Regions from separate parts of the Homo sapiens genome. Here regions 1, 2, 4, 5, 6 and 7 are each linked to region 3. Evidence: promoter capture Hi-C in 16 types of primary human blood cells and fetal thymus (Javierre and others, 2016). All regions are on one chromosome and are shown on one strand. Each heading gives the region's core, a stretch centred on a gene start or on the middle of the fragment in contact. The rest is flanking DNA. Distances are from core to core; before and after follow the strand shown.

Evidence for each region. The method cuts DNA at HindIII sites, captures the fragments that hold promoters and counts their contacts. A CHiCAGO score of 5 or more calls a contact.
Region 1: the fragment with the promoter of LACTB here is called in contact with the fragment with the promoter of CIAO2A in region 3 in 5 of 17 cell types (fetal thymus, non-activated CD4 T cells, total CD8 T cells and 2 more); the score reaches 10.5 in fetal thymus.
Region 2: a contact is called between a fragment that was not itself captured here and the fragment with the promoter of CIAO2A in region 3, in 6 of 17 cell types (fetal thymus, naive B cells, total CD8 T cells and 3 more). The highest score is 8.8, in fetal thymus.
Region 4: a contact is called between a fragment that was not itself captured here and the fragment with the promoter of CIAO2A in region 3, in 1 of 17 cell types (fetal thymus). The highest score is 5.5, in fetal thymus.
Region 5: a contact is called between a fragment that was not itself captured here and the fragment with the promoter of CIAO2A in region 3, in 1 of 17 cell types (total B cells). The highest score is 5.4, in total B cells.
Region 6: a fragment that was not itself captured here is called in contact with the fragment with the promoter of CIAO2A in region 3 in 1 of 17 cell types (naive B cells); the score reaches 5.5 in naive B cells.
Region 7: a fragment that was not itself captured here is called in contact with the fragment with the promoter of CIAO2A in region 3 in 1 of 17 cell types (fetal thymus); the score reaches 5.7 in fetal thymus.

Annotation. Positions count from the first base shown.
Region 1 is chr15:63,120,438-63,123,597 of GRCh38, reverse strand. LACTB (lactamase beta) reads right to left here and starts at 1,737. Exons shown (of 6, transcript NM_032857.5): 1 at 1,370-1,737; 2 at 896-962. The coding sequence starts at 1,726. LOC107984798 (a long non-coding RNA gene) reads left to right here and starts at 1,831. Exons shown (of 2, transcript XR_001751584.1): 1 at 1,831-2,858. RefSeq lists silencers at 979-1,168, 1,179-1,248, 1,269-1,848. The HindIII fragment of the contact is 2,300 bases long and covers 427-2,726 here.
Region 2 is chr15:63,508,191-63,511,054 of GRCh38, reverse strand. The region is part of intron 1 of USP3 (ubiquitin specific peptidase 3); the gene reads right to left. Among named protein-coding and RNA genes, the nearest start is that of USP3, 5.0 kb to the right of the region's middle. The HindIII fragment of the contact is 168 bases long and covers 1,222-1,389 here.
Region 3 is chr15:64,092,497-64,095,382 of GRCh38, reverse strand. CIAO2A (cytosolic iron-sulfur assembly component 2A) reads left to right here and starts at 1,545. Exons shown (of 5, transcript NM_032231.7): 1 at 1,545-1,738. The coding sequence starts at 1,615. RefSeq lists enhancers at 1,133-1,862, 2,223-2,272, 1,908-2,470. The HindIII fragment of the contact is 2,171 bases long and covers 1-2,000 here.
Region 4 is chr15:63,435,986-63,439,009 of GRCh38, reverse strand. LINC02568 (long intergenic non-protein coding RNA 2568) reads right to left here. Exons shown (of 7, transcript NR_120375.1): 7 at 1,474-2,047. Among named protein-coding and RNA genes, the nearest start is that of LINC02568, 47 kb to the right of the region's middle. The HindIII fragment of the contact is 1,207 bases long and covers 685-1,891 here.
Region 5 is chr15:63,541,466-63,544,402 of GRCh38, reverse strand. The region is part of intron 3 of USP3 (ubiquitin specific peptidase 3); the gene reads right to left. Among named protein-coding and RNA genes, the nearest start is that of USP3, 38 kb to the right of the region's middle. The HindIII fragment of the contact is 3,441 bases long and covers 1-2,937 here.
Region 6 is chr15:63,460,447-63,463,525 of GRCh38, reverse strand. No RefSeq gene overlaps it. Among named protein-coding and RNA genes, the nearest start is that of USP3, 43 kb to the left of the region's middle. The HindIII fragment of the contact is 2,296 bases long and covers 468-2,763 here.
Region 7 is chr15:63,280,687-63,283,564 of GRCh38, reverse strand. All of the region lies in intron 2 of APH1B (aph-1B gamma-secretase subunit), which reads right to left. Among named protein-coding and RNA genes, the nearest start is that of APH1B, 4.5 kb to the right of the region's middle. The HindIII fragment of the contact is 2,329 bases long and covers 413-2,741 here.

The DNA of each region.
Region 1 (3,160 bases), core at 488-2,987, 970 kb after region 3:
GCGCAGCCAGACATTCGGGGCCACTACCGGTCTCCGCGCATTGGTGGTAGCGGTCCCCCGGGCCCAGCTGTCTTTTCTTTTATCTCTTTGTCTTGTGTCTTTATTTCTACACTCTCTCGTCGCCGCACACAGGGAGAGACCCACCGACCCTGTGGGGCTGGTCCCTACAATAGTGTATAACCCCAGTACTTAGCACTTTGCTTTTTACGGAAGAGAGGCCTCAAGAAATTGTTAACTTAATTAAAAAAGAAAACTTCACAAATTCTGAGTTTTATCTACCCATAAGTGTTACCTGCAAGTACTCAGTTAATGGATTGTTCTACACAGTAGTTACCCCTTATCTGTGGTTTCGCTTTCCTCAGTTTCAGTTATCCATGGTCCGAAAGTATTAAATGGAAAATTCCAGAAATAAACAATTCGTAAGCTTTAAATTGCATGCCACTCAGAGTATTGTTGTGATTGTTCTATTTTATTATTGTTGCTAATCTCTTACTATGCCTGATTTATAAACTTTATCATAGATATGTATATATAAGATAAAATATAGTATATACAGGGTTCAATATCATCCACTTTTTCAGGCATCCACTGAGGGTCTTGGAATATATCCCCAGGATAAGGAGGGACTACTGTATAAAACTTTCAGACTAATAAATCCAGTCCTAAGAGAAAAGTGGGAGTGGGTAGCCATCCTCATGACTCCAATTTATTAGTCACATTTTAAACCTTACCGTGATTTAAAAACACCTGACTCTTTATTATGTTAGATGTTTTCTCTACAATATGCATCGTTTTATGTAAATGCAATAGCATTTCATGGGATCCACTCTAACCAGTAAAACAATATTTTATTTACCAACTGGCACAGAACAAAACAACAATTTTCTGAACCCACCTTCTGACCAGACTTCTTTTCCATCTACAGAAACTCCAACCACTATGCCCGGTGCGCCCACCTCATCCTAAGACCGAAGGGGAAAGAACCGACAGTTACGGGCCTGCTGAAAAAGCCCAGCGCTCTCCTCGGGGACCTTCCAAGGCCCCGCCCCCTGAGCCTGGGCCCCGCCCCCTCCACCTGGGCCCCGCCCACCTCGTCCCAGGCCATGGTCACTCACTAACAGCAAGGGATGTGCCTGTCCGCCCCCTAGGGGGAAGGGGCGGTCCCCGAGACAGGCGGTGACCTCCACCCAGATTTGGGGAACCCCCAAGAGCGTCTGACCACGGCTCGGCGGTGGGGAAATGGGAAGTCTTTCTCGGAAGCCGATCGCGGGCACCCCGCCGCCCCGGGTGGGGTCCACTCAGCCCCCGACAGCACCGCCGACAGGGGTGGATCCCCGGCCCCCTACGCCCCCCGCTCCAGTGGCCGCACCTTGATCCTGTGCAGCAGGTCGCGGCTGCTCTCGATGGCTCTGGCGAAGCACCTGGAGCAGGGCGGCGCCGGGGTCTGCGGAGACCACGGGGCGAGGGACTGCTCCTGTGGCGGCTCGGCCAGAGGCGACGCCTCAGGGTCGGGGGCCGCGGGGGACTGCGCCGGGGCCGCGCCCCTCAGCCCACCTGCCAGCTTCACCCCGAGCGCCAGCCCCAGCCCCAGCCCGAGGCCCCCGACCCAGCCGTGGCCGAGAGGCGGCAGCCCGGCGCGCTGATGGACCCCGCGTCGTCCGCAGCTTGAGGCCAAGCCCCCGGGGGCGGCAGCCCGGGCAGTCACTGCTGACATGAGCCGGTACATGGCGTCTCTGCACAGCCGGCCGCCACCAAACTCACGCACACCCTGCCAGCCGCGGCGCGGGGCGGAGGGAAGGGCAGGGGGCGGGACGGGGGTGGGGACCGCGGTCAGACCCTAGCAGTCGACGCCTGACTACCCGAGCGCCGATCGCATCGAGCCCTTCTTCCTCTCCCTTTTCTTGTCTCTTCCTTGTTTTTCCTTTCTGTCTCTCTTTCCTTTTTTTCCTTTGCTTACCCTCAGATCAAGCGTCACCTCCCAGAAGCCTTCCTAGTTCCCGTCCCATGGGAGTTCTCGCCCTTACCATCTTGCCCCTCAGTGTGCACACTTCTTTAACAACAGTTAACACTTTGTATCATTTAACTACTTGTCAGATTCCTTACCAGAGTGGGACTTCTTTGGGGAGCCTAGACTTAGTTTTGGATCCTCAACTTCTGGAACAGCGCAGGGCACACAGTAGACGCTCAGCAGGCATCTCCTTTCCCTTTAGAGATGCCTTTCTCCTTTCCTTTCCCTTTCTCCTTTCCCCCTTTAGAACGCGCTTCTTTTCACTCTCTTGCCATCTCCCTTATGTCTCATTTCAATTCACCCATTTCCCTAAAGATGTTTTAAAATCTATTGCTTCTGGAATTCTAGCTCCACACCGTACCAAAGACATGAAGTTACATCCAGACCTTATATTACCTTTCTTTTGCTATAAAAGATAAAGTGTTTTTTAAAAATTTCGTGCTTGAAAAATTTTAATCCAAAAGTAACTATTATAATTTACAATTACCTATGATTTCTCAGCATCTGTAAATGATCAGACATTCTTGTGAAATAAGAAACCTAATCTCAAATTGCTACAAAATGTAAAATGTGTATAAAATCCTAGTTTAACGTGTAATGAAATTGATATGTTAATTTGAAGTTACTTAAACATTTATCAGTTTTGTAATTTTTATATTTTGGGATACATACATACACACACACACACACACACACACACACACAATCTTTGAAAGCTTGTAGGCTTTATACCTTCAGCACTGGGGCAATATGCCCCATATACAAAATGGCCCTGTCTTTTCTTGCAGGTGGAATAAAGAAGAGAGCTCACAGACTTGAACTGACAAGCCATCAGGACAAACATATTGAGGTAATAAACTTACTGAGTAAACATATACATACCTCAAAATAAATATATTGAGGTAATAATTATTTAATAGGAGGAAAAGGCAATAATGGTATCCATACCTAGCAAGAAAATAGTGGGGCTAAATAAGTAAAGCTTCTGGGGCTACTCACAAAACCCAAGACTCCAAGAGACCAGAATATCCTAGGACCCAGAGCGTTTGACACTGAAACTGCAGTTATAGTGGACAGATGTACTCTATTAAGATAGTACTGGAGGTTCCCACGGTGGGGGTCACCACTACTCCAAGAACATGAGAGAAAAAA
Region 2 (2,864 bases), core at 56-2,555, 580 kb after region 3:
TCTTCCTACTCAGTAAAACTAATAGATGAGAAAACATCTGGAATTACTATAGATAATCACATCTGCAGACTCACAGCAGTTAAAAAGACGATCTCTACAAATTTCTAAGCCAAAGTTCATTCAACGACCCCAAAGATTTTAAGATACAACCACAATGAACAATTTTAGGTGAATTTCTTTTCAGTCTCAAGGACACCTATTCTTACCTACATTCTCAAAAGAAACCACTACACAGAAATCTCAGAGCATCTTGAGGGGTCTTGGCACAAGACAATTCTAGGTAAGATGAACAAGCTGTTACTGTTGTTAATGCTATTCTCAGCATTCTAAACTGTCAATCAAGGTAAGCTTAATCACAAACACACCCTCCAAAAAGTACTAGCCCCTACTGAGAACCCATCAAAGTACTTCCTTCCAAGCCATCTGTCCAGGAAAGCTCTATTAACACACCTAGAATGCAATTGCTCTCCTGTCTAAAGAGGCAATGAATAAACATAAAATATCAAAATATGTTAAACAGCATACCTTTTCCACTTCAAACAATGATAATCTACCGACTAAATCTATTTATTTCAATGCCTTGGTTGAACACAAACCTGTATGTATGTAGGTCAGAGACTGCAGCTTAATCAAAGGAGACTAACATTTTGTTTTCAAAGAAGGAAAAATATTAAAAACAAACAAACAAGCTCAAGAAGGGGAGAAAAGCTCAAAAAGAAAAAAAACGAGCAGGTTAGGTTAGGGGAAATGTACATGTTAATCAGCTCCTGATGGAAGAGGGACTCAAATTTTAAAACAGGAATTTAAATGACTCACTGAGCTACACACTAAATTACTCACTGGTCTACTCACTGAGCTGCAAACACTATAAAAACATAAGTATTTCTAAATCTAGCTTGAAGGATCCAAAATCAATCTTTTATATTCCAGTGGAGAAGGAAATTACATACATTTCAATGAGGAAAAAGGAGGCTGTTACACGAGCCTAAGGCTAATGGTGTACAAGCAAAGAATGAGAATAAATTATTTTGAGGATAAATAACAGGAAACCACACCAAAGAGTTCGAATTCTTCCCCCAACTCCATCATTTCTTCTGCTTAGACCATGAAGGATGTTCTGTATACACTATTAAGCATATTATTAGGGAAAGAACTTCTCATCAATGTGTCAAAACTTCTTCACAACAAGTAAATGTTAGGCTCAATCTCTATACTGAAGCTTCTTTAAACAAAACACATACATGGAGCACATTCTAAATTTCACACATTTCACATCCATGAGCAATCATTTAGAGACTCTAGAAATAAGCTGAGATTGCTCTAAGATTCTGGGGGACGGGGTTGGGGAGGAATACTGCAGAAAGACTAGAAAGACATTTGACTTAAGCTTTATAAATATTACCAAAAAAGTTTAAATTCTTCAGAAGGATATATAAAACTCAAATACTACTTTTTAGAATTAATGTGAAAAAAGTATCACCTGTCCACTGATTTTTAACTACCCCATCCACATTTACAACTAAATTGTCCACCTGCCCATCTATAAATACAGACTGCCAAAAGAACACAAATTCATTGTGATAACAACACTGCAGATGGTCATTTGCTCACAATCCAGCCAACGTTTACTGACTAAAATACTGGGAGTGCGGGCTAGTGAAAGCATTCTGGGGAAAGTTCACTCTGCGTTTATTTTCAACATAAAGACCCTGCCAGACACATCTAAGTGATAGTTCCTTTATTTATCAGGCAAATATTTACTAATTGCTCTATTAAGTATTAGGCACTTAATAAAGACATCATAGAATGTTACTAAAAAGCAGTAAAAGCATTTGACCTAATGACAAGGAAATGACTGATTGTATTTAGAAAATTTAGTCCACTGGGCAAACGAGTGTTAAATGTAGGTTGTGGAGAAATACGATACAAAATAACCCATCACTCCATCAAGGTTGATTTCTTCTCTTTATCACAACCTGATCAGTCCATTACAAATTTATTACCACTGACAACCAATAATCAACACCTCATCCTACTGAATGGATCTCTTAAAAAAGGGTTTATCTCCAGTATTTTGGGTGGAATTATCTGCAGTTTTTGGTGCAAAATTGCAGAACATTTACTTGATCTACACTTACTTTTCTTGGGTAGAGTAATATGAAGGCAAGTGTGTACTGAAAACTTAAAGAGGCACTCTCAACTCATTGAAGAATTAATCAGGGAAAAATTAGCATGCCTATCCTACTAAATATCTCTAATTTAACTGGCTGTTTAACCCAAACCCTCAAGTTCAAATGCTTGGTCCTTGGCTTTCCTTAGTTATCAAAACACTTGCATTCAGGGCATCTTTTTAAACAATTTTTGTTTTTTCCCACTGGTTAAACTCTTTTACCCACAAAAATAAGGAATGCCCAAGCCTCCAACTTCTGAAAATAACATCTGGTATGTGCACATAACAAAAAGCTTGAGAGAATGCCCTTTTATTTAAAACTTTTTCATTTTAAACTAGAATCCCTTAAGCAACAATTAGACATAAATCAGCCTTTACGTTATTAGGAGATAGCTATTTTCAACATTTACCTTAAACCACATGGATGTATCTTCTAACTAGTTAGCTTCCTGTCTCTCCCCCAGCTAGATTAGACTGTTAACTTTTTTGGCAGCAAAGGACTACTAGAGCCCATGCTCTATTTCCCAGCTAATACATTTCAAAAACCTCAGGTCTCTACAGAAACATAAACGTTGGTAGCCTTAAGGATTTCTCTAATTTTTTAAAGTTATTTTGATATGAGCAGGTATCCTTAACTGTTAACTATAGCTTACACAAGTGGGTTCTCAAAGTGTGGTCCTGGACCCCTGAAAGT
Region 3 (2,886 bases), core at 296-2,795:
GATAATCAATTCTGCTTGGAGAAGTAGGGAGGCCTCACAGATGAAGTGAGGCCTCAGTGTCCTAGATTTGGCTGGAAAAATGTTAGGATTATCCTCTCAATTGCTGTGGAGTAAGTGGAGTGGAATAGACGGCAGGGAAATTATTGAACCCTGACCAAAATTTCCTTGGGACCTAAGCAATTCATTGTCTGGTGATCCTAAGGCCTACATTAACTAGACAAACAAGACTGGAGTTTAAAGATAAATGGGCATGTTAGCATGGGACAATTCTGCAAGATAATCCTATCTTCTCAATAGAAATGGCATTTGTCACCAACTTTGACAAGAGGTTTAGTTAGTTTGGTTGTAACTGCAAATTCAGGGATGGACTCCCTCACAGGTCATGTGAGCTGTTTGAAGGCGGGGGCAGCGTTTTATCTTTGTATCTTCCATGCCTATGGATCACCTATGGCAAATTAGTACCTACAAATTTGATCGGAGGGATGGATGGATAAAATAAAATCGATTTTGTTACTGGCATCCATCACACCCACGAACACCAGAGGGCTTAAGATACACTTTTTTTTTTTTTTTTTTTTTTGAGGGAAGTCTCGCTCTTCTCCCCCAGGCTTGAGTGCAATGGCTCGATCTTGGTTCACTGCAACCTCTGCCTCCTGAGTTCAAACGATTCTCCTGCCTCTGCCTCCCAAGTAGCTGGGATTAAGGCCCCTGCCACCACGCCCAGCTAATTTTTGTATTTTTTAGTAGAGACGGGGTTTGCCCATGTTGGCCAGGCTGGTCTCGAACTCCTGACCTCAGGTGATCCGCCCGCCTCGGCCTCCCAAAGTGCTGGGATTATAGGCGTGAGCCATCGCGCCCGGCCAAGATACACTTTTAAGGATGGCGATCTCCATTATGTCACCACTGTACACATTAGACACGGGAAAACTTATGTTCTAAGTTGTCTTTGGAGGCCATTAGCAGAAATATTCGTTCAAAGGTGGGAAGCTGTGCTGGACTGAGTCCCTTAGGAGACGAGAAAGCCAAAAAGCCCTCCCCATGCCATACCTGACTACCTCACTGGCTTCCCATGACATCCCTTTTCACAGCAACTGAAACCTACTTCCTGTCCGATCAGGAAGTAAGAAAGACGTTGGCTGTCAGCGGATCCCGCGGAGAAATAATTGTAAAGAGTCTCCGTGCTGGAGAACTCAAGATCTCCTTTCCCCTACCCCTTCAGGATTCATCTTTAACTTATCACGGATACTGAGTGAGTCAGTCGCGGTTAACAGACCGTTACATCCACTTCTACCAGGCGGACACTACAAGTCCCAGAATACAATTCGCTGCCTTCCGAAGAAAATAGCTCACGCATCCCAGCATGCAATGTGCTGACGAGCCGCGAAGATTGTTTTTGTCCCGCCGAAATCGAGCAAAGCACGCTGGAACTTGTAGTCCTTGAGGCCCCTTCCCTAGGTCCTTCGAGCTACTCCGTCTGGCCCCGCCTTTTCTCTGCTCTCCTGAACCTTTAGGCTTGTCTCGGCCCATTTGAAGACCAGGAAGTTGATCAATCCCGAGGCTGCTGAGAGACGGTGGCGCGATTGGGACAGTCGCCAGGGATGGCTGAGCGTGAAGATGCAGCGGGTGTCCGGGCTGCTCTCCTGGACGCTGAGCAGAGTCCTGTGGCTCTCCGGCCTCTCTGAGCCGGGAGCTGCCCGGCAGCCCCGGATCATGGAAGAGAAAGCGCTAGAAGTTTATGGTAATTAATTTTACCCAGCACAGCATTTGGCGTTATAGGTGCAGGCCGGAGCTGAGGGGTGCGGGGATGATGGCCTCACCTGAGGGCTGGGAGGGGAGACCTTTTTTTTTGTTTGTTTGTTTGTTTGTTTTTGGCCAGATCTTGTCCGGGGCGTAGCAGGCGCTTTCTTCGGGGTCCTAAGTCACGTGGGGGGTGTGGGTCTTTCTGGGAACTGGGCTCTTCGTAAACCTGGGGCAAGCCGAACCCAGAGGTCTTAAAAGCTTCATTCTCCACGTGTGGCCTACGTCTTAGTAACCATTCCAAGACTTGTGGGGAGACCACAAGTCTAGGGTGCCTGGTTAGGAAGCAAAGCTGGCCTGATTGCACTACTAGAGCCTCGTTCTCTAGCTCCTGGACACGCACTCTTGCTACCGCTGAGGGCGCTTGTGGGTGACAGTCGAGTTGGGGACTGGCCCAAGGTCACAGCCACTCTATCCGGCAAAGTCAGTAAGCAGAGGTCCCCGAAAGAAGAGAACGAGATTGGCTTCTTGTAGCAAGGCCTTGTGTACACACACATAACGCACACACACACATACACACTCTTCCATGTTGCATATTAAATATTTTCTGTTTAACCCTTGGGGCCATCTTTATTGTACAAATGAGGAAACAAAGGTTAAAGAACTACCTGGAGGTCACACTGCCAGTAAGGAACAGAGCCAAAAAGCAAAGGCTGTGCCTACTGGTTCTAACCGTAATGCACTTTCCACCACTTCACAATTGCCTTACAACTTTTTGTTTGTTTGTTTTTTTAATTATGTTGTATTGTTTTTGAAAACCGAAAAGACTGGATATAATATTGAGAGATCTAACCATAGAATACAAATATAATTCAAGTAAGGATTATAGGCCAGTAGAAGGAAGCCAGGGTTAGGAAATACTCTGGGAGCTAATTTGGTTGACCTCTCTTACTAGAGGCAGGACTTACCTAATCAGCCTCCAGGCAGATGATAATTGTGAGTAAAATGATCTCCACAAAGCAGACCACATCCCTGTCCTGCCAGATCTCTGTCCACATAATCTAGGGATGGTAGGGCACTGGAGATACAACTTTGGAAGAGAGTGACTCTAGTCTTCAAACTGATATTGAAGGAAACCCATATATGCAA
Region 4 (3,024 bases), core at 39-2,538, 660 kb after region 3:
TCTGGGATACATGTGCAGAATGTACAGGTTTGTTACATGGGTAAATGTGTGCCATGGTGGTTTGCTGCACCCATCAACCCGTCACCTATGTATTAAGCCCTGAATGCATTAGCTATTTATCCTGTTGCTCTCCCTCCCCCTGCCCCCACCCCACAGGCCCCAGTGTGTGTTGTTCCCCACCATGCATCCGTGTGTTCTCATTGTTCAGCTCCCACTTACAAGTAAGCACATGCGGTGTTTGGTTTTCTGTTCCCGTGTTAGTTTGCTGAGATTATTTATTTATTTGAGACAGCATCTCACTCTGTTGCCCAGGCTGGAGTGCAGTGGTACTCAGCACAACCTCAGCTCACTGCAACCTCCGCCTCCCAGGTTCAAGCGATTCTCCTGCCTCAGCCTCCTGAGTAGCTGTGACTACAAGTGCATGCTACCACGCCTGGCTACTTTTTGTATTTTTAGTAGAGACAGGGTTTCACCATGTTGGCCAGGCTGGTCTTGAACTCCTGGCCTCAAGTGATCCTCCCACCTCGGTTTCCCAAAGTGCTGGGATTATAGATGTGAGCCACCGCACCTGGCCCCATTTCATTTATTTTTGAATCACTGTATCTTTTTATTCCCATTTCCCCTGATATCTCTCCCTTAAGCTGATCACAATTAAAAAACAAGGTTAAAACAATAATTCAAGCTTCATTGTTTTAATTTGTGTTTATTGAAAGAGTTTTAAATACCCTGCTCTTATTTTTAAATTGGATGGATAGAATATTTTGTGAATGGTGAAGCCATCAAGCAACAAAATTTATTTTTGACTAACACACCAGAGTTTTTACATCAGAATGTTTTGAAACTACTTGGAGAGAATTCTTTCTCAGATCCTCAATGAGAGCAAGATCTTCCTTTGGGGGAAGATTTTTAGAAACAGCCAAAAATGAGTAAAATCTCTGAGGCTTTAACAGCTATCCTTAGCATTCTCTAACAAGGTTTACACTTTTCTTTCCTAGTGCCTTGGGCAAGCTCCCTTGGGTTCCACCCTCCAATACCCTCCCAAGTATACCTGCTCGGTGACAGGATCTGGGGACAGGGCAGTTACTCTAGGTTCTTCTGTTCATAGGGCCTGCCCTGGCCCTCCTCTAGCCCTACCCTTCTCCATGGGTCAAGGATCTCATGGGCCCAAGTGGCTCTGTCCCACTAGACCCTCCTTGAGGCTCCAGAAACTCCCAAGTTTCCTGCCCAAGAGTCCCCAAATGCATTTTCAGGGCCCGTGTGGCCTCTCCTTCCATCTCTCCAGCCAAGGGCAGACTGCCCTGCTGCTGTGCTTACCCTTGGCCAAGGGGGGAAAGGGCAGCTGTTTGTGGGGGGCTGGGGTATCGAGGGGCATTCACCCAAGATCCCTCGTGGTGTGAGACAGAGCTGGGAGTGAAAGAAAATGGGGGAGGGGAGACCTCGAGGTTGGGGGCCCTCCCCTAATGCTGTATTTTGACTTGGAACTTTAAGGAGTGTGAAAATTCTAAATCTGAACCTGGCATTCCATCTCGTTATGAAAGTATTTGTCAAGCTAGGAGGATAGAACATATTTGATTTCATGTTATGTTAGCTTGATTTATAAGTTTAAATACTGAGGCATGTGGTCCGTGGCCTCTGTTTATACTCTTGCCCTGCATGGGTTAAGAGGCCTGAGCTGGGGCAGGCCGGTTGCTCTGGCCTGGTGTCTGCCTCCCAGCTTGGAAGACCCCATCTTCACCCCAGATCCCAGCTTTTAGCTCCCCCTTGGTGTCCTATTACTGGGCTCAGGGCCAGCCTCTTTCACCCCTCCAGCCAACCCTGGTTCTGAGAGCCCTGGGAAGGGAATTTCAACAATTGGGAACCAAACCTGGTGAATCAGGCTGGGACTCAAGCTTTTGTTTTGTTTGCTTGTGTTTGTTTCAAGATGTGGGAGGCCATGAAAGAGGAGGGCTGCTTTCTTCTGTGGCAGGCTGTCTCTTCCGGCAGCTCCACAAGAGATCTGGGGAGTTGGCAGCAGGCCAGTTGCAGGAAGTAGACGGTAGTTGGAGCTCTACTGAAACAGAGAGATCAGATGTGTCAGACAGGGAGACAGTGGAGCCCAGATTCAGGGCAAGACTGTGAGTGAAGCCTGCAAAGCCATACCAGAGCTAGATCCAGGAGGAATGACTGAGCGCTGGTCTGTAGGGGACAGCAGAACCCCCTAGAAGTGTGTTTCTCAACACTCCTCTCACGGAGAGCACTGTGAGGCATCAGGAGGAGGTCTTAGTCCAGGGTGGGAGTGTAAGACCCCCAGGGGCATGTTGATGACAGCAGAGTTTGTGCAATGCCTCCTGGGATGGTGGGCTGAGTGACTGCAGGACTTCCTTCTGTTTGGGGCCCTGTTCTCTTCTGGACTCACTGCAGGCTCTGAGATGGAGTGTCTGATGGCACCATGAGTGATGAGTAGACCAGGGTATATGTAACAAGGCACTAAAGCAGAGGGCATGCTTCAACTGGCAGAGGTCCTGTTCATGGTCCAGCCCTCCAGCAGCTGTCCTGACTGGCCTCTTCCTTGCCAGAACTCTCATGGCCAATGAGTCCGGACTTCATATTTCTCCACTTACTAAATCTACAGATGTGTACCCTGTCCCTCTACATGATAGGTCCCTCTACATTATCCCGGTAGCAGTGATAAGGCCTGACATTCTAGTGGGGTAGACAGACAAGAAATGTTACTGGCGGCGAATCTGTACAGGTCTGCAGCAACCTCAGTTCTTGCCCCCTCAGAAGGAAGAATTCGACTGAGAGACATAAGGCAGAAGGAGAGGCCGAGGCAAATTTTGGAGCAGGAGTGAAAGTTTATTAAAAAGCTTTAAAGCAGGAATGAAAGGAAGGAAAGTACACTTGGAAGAGGGCTAAGTGGGTGACTTGAAAGACAAGTGAGCTTTGAGCTTTTGACTTGGGGTTTTATACGTTGGCATACTTCCGGGATCTTGCGTCCCTTCTCCCCTCATTCTTTCCTTGGGGTTGCCTGTTGGCATGCACAGT
Region 5 (2,937 bases), core at 117-2,616, 550 kb after region 3:
TAAAGTTACTTTCTTTCTACCAGACCTCACTCATATTAACTGGACTCTACAAGCAGTGAGCATCCAGACCTGCATTTGGTTACAAAAGAAGCCTTCAAGCTATTTTCATCAGCTTCCTAATCAAGTTAAAAAATAAACCACAAAACTGAGTATCCACTACCCTCTCTATATATATTCTATATATATATGTATATATTTGTATTAATAAATTATATATACAATTAAATCTAAATTATATATTACAAAAAAGAATAATTTTTAAAGAATGAGCTAGAGATGAAATAAACTATATTAAATGTCTTGCTATTCACAATATCTTCATACTATTATTAAACTAATTTCCTTTTTTTTTTTTTTTAAAGACAGTGTCTCCCTGTGTTGCCCAGGCTGGTCTCGAACTCCTGGGCTCAAGAGATCCTCCTGTCTCAGCCTCCCAAAGTGCTAGGATTATAGGTGTGAGCCACCATGCCTGGCCATAATTTCTCAAAGTACAATATACCATAAGGTAAAGGTTTGACATTAATGACAGTGAATATAGATTCATACTTCCTATCATCTTCATGTTAATTTTTAAACATTTTGTCCAACTTATCAGGTCTTATTAGTCTGTGTTTTTATTAGATAGCCAATAATTTTATCCTGTAATATGTTTGATGAGCACAGAGTAGGAAAATGTATCCATTTGCCCTTTTCTTGTGTTTACATCATCGTCACTATCTTGCAGAATTTAAAACCTTTTAGAACATGTGTCCATGTGGCTACACATATTATATGGGACGAATAAATCCATATAACTAAGCAGATATAGAATGCAAAATGCTCAAAGTAAACAGAATGAGGACACCACAGGTGAAACTGATTTAGGAGTCTGTGTGTAACTCATGGCACACAATCATCAAATCTACAGACCTCTGGCAGCAGGTGTTAAATATTTGACAAAGGTTTCTTTTCTCCTCCCAAATAAAAAGGTACAGTGTTCTAAACGCTCTTCCCATACTGCCAGTACATTATTTTGGAGACCACTGCACTAAAAACTAGGTCCCTAGCACATAGTAGCTTCTCAAAAAATGTTACTTATTGAGTAAAATGTGTCTTTTTTTTTTAATGTTGTTCACAATATGTTTGAGGACCATCATGTAAACCACGATCTGTCCCAAGTAAACATTTTGAAGACAAAAACTGAGGGAGAAAAGGACTACTTTTTATAATATCAAGTTTTCTTCATAAGGGTCATTACCTTCACTCTGTACCTTTCTTTAACACATTTATTCCTAGGTGTAACCAATAGTTTTGTCATTCTGTTGAATATTTTTGCTTGGTCATTTCCATTTTCAACTGATGACTACTAATAAAGAGAAAGCTATTAGTTTGTGTACATTTCTCACACATCAGCTTTCCAAAGTGTCTTACATTTAATCCTCATTGCTGTTTTCTACTAGAGTCCCCCTGGGCTTTCCAGCTATTCTATTGTATCATTTCAAAGTAGAAATAATTTTTTGTTTCCAATATTTATGCCAATTATTTGACTTTCTGTCTACTGTCTTACTGCAATGGCTAGAACTACCAAAACAATGCTTAATAATAGTGACAATCATGTAAATGATGACAGGAAGTATTAGTCTCGTTTCTGATATAATGGAAATGGCTTTGGCATTTCATCATTTAGTATATGATGTTTGCTTTCTGGTTTTTGGCAAACTAGAAGAGCTTAAGTTTCTGTTTATTTCAATGTTATTAGTTTTTTAAAACGAGAAATGGCTATTTATAAATGTATATTTTGCTTCCAATGGGACAATAATTTGAGGTTTCCTTTAATAATGAATATGTTCATAGAACTCAGGTGAAATTAACTCTACTTGGTAATTATATAATTTTTCTTTTTGATAGCTTACTGGGTTAGATTTGCTTTAAGTTATAGTTATTTCCAACTACAGTATTTTATTTAGTAAAATTGGCTTATTTTGTTTTTGGAGTTTCTGTTAGATTTCTATCTTAAGGTTTTGAAAGTTTATAACATTAATATACTTAATGTTAAATTTTAATAGTTTGAGGCTGCACTGTCCAATAGTAGCTAGCAGTCACATGGTGCTATTTAAATATTAATTAAAATAAAAAACACTTAATTCTTCACACTAGCCACATTCAATTGCTCAATTGCTACCATACTGAATAACATATATGTCATACCCAAGACAGAGAAAAATCTCTACCTCTTTCTCAGCTTTAAAATTCTAAGTTTTTTTCAATTCCTGTTGTTAGTGCTATTGAAGTTACTCAAGTCATGACTTCCACATCATGTCCTTGAAGAACTAAGAAAATATTCCCAAAGCAAACCATTCTTCACTCATCTGAAACAAGGAGGAATAATCATACAAATAAAACATTTTTTATGCAACAGTAAAGAAACAAGTCCTTTAATTTACTGGCAACAAAGCTATCTTTATACAGTAAGCCATGCATAACACTAATACCAAAAATAAATAAATAAATAAAACCTCTTATGCAACAAACACCCCTGACACATGACAGATCCTTCATTAAGTTTCACCAGCTCCTTTTCATTCACTTCTAAGACATTTTGATATTTACGGGCAAATTTGACATCTGGTTTTATTATAAATGACAGTAATACTGAAAAGAAAAAGCAAGCTGATATTCTAGTGACTTCACCTATTTCAAACTGAGAAAGGTTAAAATCTAAAAGAATTTGCTTAGGAAGCAAGAGCATTTTTAAATTCTCTTACTAAACTCTGATGTATTGCCATCAAATAAGCCAATTATGGAAAATTAGAAGAATACCTGCAGAGCAAACCCATATCCTTTGTTAAAAGCAGACAAGTACCAGCTTATCTTAAGGAAGAGCCTTTTATGTTTTAAGATTATCTCTATTAGAAAGTTTCTTCTTAAACTTCAAAATATTGTTTTTAAATAAACAAA
Region 6 (3,079 bases), core at 366-2,865, 630 kb after region 3:
GTCTGTGACTTGGTTGCTTTCTCATTAAAAATAGGCATAAAAATAATCTTCTCTGCCTGCCTCTCAGTGGGATTACGGGAACTGACTGAGTTAACTCATATAAAAGTGATAAAAGTGTTTCATAAACTGTGAAACACTATACAAATGTCACAGAAGGATTATTAGATACAGCAGTAAGTTCTAATTCATTATTATTCAGAATTCCAGCAACTCAGCTTGTTCTTGGCTGTGTTTTATTGACAAGGCAGCATCTGATGCCCATTGAGATTCTGCTCATTAAAGCCTGGCACAGAGTGAGGCCTCCCTGTTAGCACCCCTCCCCACCCCAGCTCCTTTGTCCTGATGTTCTTACACCCTCAGTCCAACTAGGATGGATCTCAGCTACATAGAAAAATCTCTGATAGTGGTCTCACTGCCCTTGAAAAAAGCCTAACTCTCATTCTTAAAAAAAGCTTTTGGTGAAAGCTTCATTCATACAAGAATATATATATAACGTGTAAGTATAGTTTAAGGAATAACAATAAAACAAACCGCACACTAAACTTTAGAAAAAATACTACCAGTGCCTGCAAAGCTCCTATTGTTCTTCCCTGATGCATTCTCTTCACTCTCCTATCCTCGATTTTGCATTAATCTTTCTCTTGCTTTTTATTTTTTTGAGATAGGGTCTCACTCTGTCACCTAGGCTGGAGTGTAGTGGTGTGATCATAGCTCATTACACCCTTGATCTCCCGGGCTCAACTGATCCTCCCACTTCAGCCTCCCAGGTGGCTGGGACCACAGGCACATGCCACCACACCTGTTTACTTTTTTGTTTTTATTTTTAGAGATGCAGTTTCACTATGTTACCCAGGGAGGTCCCAAACTCCTGGAGTCAAGCAATCCTGCCTCAGCCTCCCAAAGTGCTGGGATTATAGGCATGAGCCACTGCATTCAGCCTCTCCTACTTTTGAGAAAGAGCTTTACCTTATAAGTATTATCCCTAGTTTTTCTTGCCTCTAAACTTTTATCAAGGGAATCATACTGTAAGTATTCTTTTATAACTTGCTTTTCACATCTGTGATCTATGTTGATGGGTACAGCTGTAGTTTATTCATTTTCATAGCTACATAGTTTCCACTATGGGACTGTGTTAGAATTTATTCCTCCTACAGCAAATGGACATTTGAGTTGTTTCCAATTTGGGACTATTTTAAACCATGCTTGTTTATTTCTCCTACTGCCTATATATGAGAGTTAATATTTATCTAGAAGTGGAATTACTGAGTCATAAGGTATGCGTGTCTTTAATTTTATCAGATAAGGCCAAACTGTTCCAAGTGGTGGTAACAATCAACTCTCCTACCAACCATGTATGAGAATTCTCATTGTTCTACATCCTTGCCCCTGCTTGATTGCCTGTGTTTTAAATTTCTGCCAGCCTCGTGGCTGTGGAATTGTATCTAATTTTTATTTTAGTTTGCATTTCCCTTATTACTAAGGAGGCTGACCATTTTTTCATATGTTGGTGGTCTTTTTGTATTTCCTTATCCCTGAAATGCCTGTTCATGTCTTTTCCCCATTGAAAAAATTAAATTGTTCATTCTTATTGATTTGTCGAAGTTTTAAAAATAGATTCTGGACAGGAATTCTTTGCCAGGTGTAGGTGTTACAGTGATCGAGTCCAGTCTCTGGATTGTCTTCTCTGTGTCATGTTTTTTTATGACTAGAAGTTCTTAATTTTAGTGAAGTCACCCTTCCTCTTTTCCTTGAACTTTTGGTGTCTTGTTTAAGAGTGATTTTTTACCCGAGGCCCTAAAAACGGTCTGGATTTTCTTCTAAAAGTTTCAACATTCCAAATGTCTTTCTTGGGACTGCTCTGCCTACTGAGCTCCTGAATCTTTCCACAAAATGCTTCTGCAAGCCAGAGGTTATTTCTATTCCAGTGGGCCTCCTCTCTGCACAGAGGGCCCCCGAGTTCTGCCAAGTGCCCAGAGAAAGGCTCCATTCACCGGGCGGGCTGCTCTCCATGGCCGTGAGTGTCCCGCGCTCTCTGCCGACCGCGGGCCCCTAGGAGGAGCCTTTGCTCCAGGCCTGGAGCTCCCTCCCCAGGCTCCTCTTGCACCCGGCTCCTGGCCGGGGAAGGGGAGCCCTTGCCTCCTGCAGACGGTGGGAGCGGCATCTCCTTTGCACCGAGCCAGGATCTCTGCATGGGGCCACCGCACTTGGGCCTCGCTAGCCTAGTCCGGCCCCTGACCCGCTGGGGCTGGGCCCCTCTTCCCATTCCTGCTCCCTCAGTCCTGCTTTCAAATCTACTGTCTTACCTCCTGCTCGGACGCCTTTCTTGGAATTCTCTTGATTCCTCCCTTGTCTTTTAGGGAGGCCCCGCAGTAACATTCTTTTATGGGTCAGATGCTGCTGAGGTTTCAACCTATCCCAAACTGTTGCAGGATGTAACTGACGAAACTGCAGGCTCCCCAAAGGATCAGACACTAGGGAGCCACAAAAGGTACAAAACCGAAGGGGGCACCGCATGTTTCAATGTTTGATTTTGCCTCACATTTCCCGCTCCACCAGTTAATAGCTGGCTCCACGGTTTCCTCTTTCTTCAGTTTCCTTATCTGGAAGACTGAGTTAATAATCACTACCTTACAGTTTTCGTAAGGATGAAGTAAGATAACTTGGGTAAGGTTCACGGTGCCTGGCACATAATAGGGACCCACAAATATTAGTTTCTCTTTGTCTTAGTTTGAGATCCCAAAATACACAGCCAGAGGCCAAGCTTAGGCACAAATGCTTTTTTGGTTGGTTTCATCTCACGGAAGCAAGAGTGGAGAACAAAGAGAAATGAGGCAGGCAGGCAGGCAGGCAGGAACCACAGATCCAGGGAGGTGTGGAGGGGCCAGAGCAGATCAGGGGCCATGCGGGGTTTCTCTGGACAGGCTGCGTGGAGACCCTGGAGGAGAGGAGAGCACTCTACCTGCCAGTGCCTGCCCACCTCCTATCTCTCATTAATCAAAGTTCACCTTTTGGGAGGCTGATTCCCCTGCATTCTAGGCTGTTTCCCTGGGAGCCCTTCTGGAGGACTTCTCAGAAAGCC
Region 7 (2,878 bases), core at 328-2,827, 810 kb after region 3:
ATAAAAAGACAAATAATCAATTTAAGAGATAAATTGTCTGGGCATGGTGGCTCACACCTGTAATACCAGCATTTTGGGTGGCTGAGGTGGGCGGGTCGCTTGAGCTCAGGAGTTTGAGACCAGCCTGGGCAACATAAGGAGCCTATGTCTCTACCAAAAAAATACAAGTTAGCTGGGTGTGGTGGCACGCACTTATAGTCTTAGCTACTCAGGAGGCTGAGGGTGGGAGGATTGCTTGAGCCCCGGAGGCGGAAGTTGCAGTGAGCCATGATTGCGCCACTGCACTCTAGCCTGGGTGACAGAGCGAGACTGTGTCAATCAGTGAATCAATCAAAGATTTTAGCTATTTGATACAACAAAGTACTACTATCACAAATATATTAAATAAATAAACTAAAAAGTTTAATAAGCTTCCTAATTCTACGTTATGGAAGTACGTGGGAGGAAAACTAACAGCACTAAGAGTTCTCAATGTCAACATCAGGAAGTGAGAAAGTACAAAACATCATCAGTTTCTGGGTTCACGTCCATCTTACTGAAGTGGAAAATTCTTTGTTTGCATTTATTATTATGTTCCCAAGAACAAAAAAAGAAACAATTCAAATTTCAAAAATATAAATTTTGAAAAACTACTGCTAAATCACACCATCTTTCTCATTTGTTCTATCCTTTTTCGAATGTGTGTGTGAGAGAGAGAAAGGAGTATGAATACAAGTTAAATACGCCATTTTCAGAATTTTTAAAAATAGACACGCTGCTTAAAAGTTGTAGCAATGGTTATCTTAATGTTTTTTCTATAAATGGAAGATTTTCTAAAATTACAAAATATTTATGGTATCAACCTTTTAAGACAAAATTGAATTAAATTACAAAAGTTTCCATCCAAACAGAAAAAATCCTAATGTCTGTTTTAGGCAACATACAGGAGTTTCAAGCAACATACAGGAGTTTCAAGCAACATAGAGTTGTCTAAACTGTATGTTTTTGGCAAAATATGATTATATTTTAAGCAACATAACTTGGATTTTAAAAAAATTACTGCAGAAAGGGCTACCACACATGCCAATTTCTCTTTATGCAAGGCTCTGCCAGGCTGAAAGTTACTATTCATTCATGTAAGAACAAGATTAGTAAGATTAAGTGATTAAGGTCTAACTCATGAAATAAAACTATTATTTATTATTAGATTGCAATGAATATTTTGATCCAATTCCATATATTTATAAAAACTGGTATAAACTCTCCACATTTTAATCTTGGCACCAAATTCTGATAGCAAAAGTCTGAGGTAGCACTTTAAATTTAAAAGTTCAAGACCTACTTTGGCAGTGGAGATAAAGTATTGATTAAACCAAACTCCCTATATTTGAATGCAATATAGAATAAGAGAGCAATGTAAATGTATCCATATAAATGTCAGTCATAAATAAAGCATTATAATAATTCTTAAATTGTTTTAATACATCTACATAACATTTAACATTTCTCAAATTTGCTGGGAAAATTTTGAATATTCTAAAGGCTCGTAAAAGATGATTTTTGCAAATGCAAACAAACGTACCTGCTAGTACAAGTCTGTCCTACCATTTGCAAATTTCCAAAGGTCCTTTCAGAAAAGCACACATGGTTTCCCTAGGAACCTAAAGAGGCTTCTCTGAACTTCCTGGCATTCGAGCCTACAGACTGACAGCTTTAATTTCTTCCTCATGTGGTCCTACTCCTTTCCTGCCCTCATTAAAAAAGTGGACACTTGCTCCTCAGTGTAAAAAGAAAATTTTAAAAATTAAAATTAAAAAAAAAAAAAGAGGAACAATAATGTGGATCTATGTTCAGCTACAGTCCTTTGGAGCCCTAAGTTAGTGCCAGGAAAATGTTGCCATTTCAGGTGGAAACCATGAAGATGCAAGGCAGTGAAGAACAGCCCATACTCATTTTGTCACGCTGATAATTCAGGTTTTAGAACATACAAGTCCTAAACTTTAAATTCTGTATTAGAAATTGTGTTTTTTTTTGTTTTTTTTTTTTTTTTTCAAAATTAGACCCATGGCATGAAAATGCATATGGGCCAATGATGTCACTGACAGGAAAACCCAGTGCAATGTGAGGCTGAGCTGTGAAGAGTACAGTGCCCAGTCAGGGGTACTACTTAGTCTGCACTGCAGAATACCATGCTGGGTTCTGAGCACAGGCAAAAACCAGGCGCTGACAAAAAGGGTCATGTCCACTGACCAAAAAGAACAAACAGCCTTTCTTTTGGAAAGGTTTGGAAGCCACAACCATGCCTGTTGAGGTCCAGGTGAAGAAATGAGGACTGTTCATTCTTGAAAGGGAGATAATTATAACCATGCAGCAGAGACTTCATTTACCTGGTACTTGAGTAAGGCAGCGGTCAGAAGGGAGTTTTTGTTTTTGCTTGTTTGTTTTTTTTTTAGACAGGGTCTGGCTCTGTCTCCCAGAATGGAGCACAGTGGTGCAATCACGGCTCACTGCAACCTCCGCCTCCTAGATTCAAGTGATCCTCCCACCTCAACCTCCCGAGGAGCTGGGACCACTATGCCCAGTTAATTTTTGTATTTGTTGTAGAGACAGGGTTTTGCCATGTTGCCCAGGCTAGTCTCGAAATCCTCAGCTCAAGCAATTGGCCTACCTTGCTTTCCCAAAATGTCAGGGTTACAGGCATGAGCCACCAAGCCCAGCAGAGGTAGATGTGGTTACCTTAATGATATTCTACAGTTAAAGCTTAAAATTGTAGAATGGTAGTAACTGCCACATACCAGAAACATTCAAACACAGCTAGATGTCCATCTGTTAGGGATGTTGTATTACCATGGAAATTTCAGTGTTACCTTTGATATTTATTTATTCCCATGTAATATTT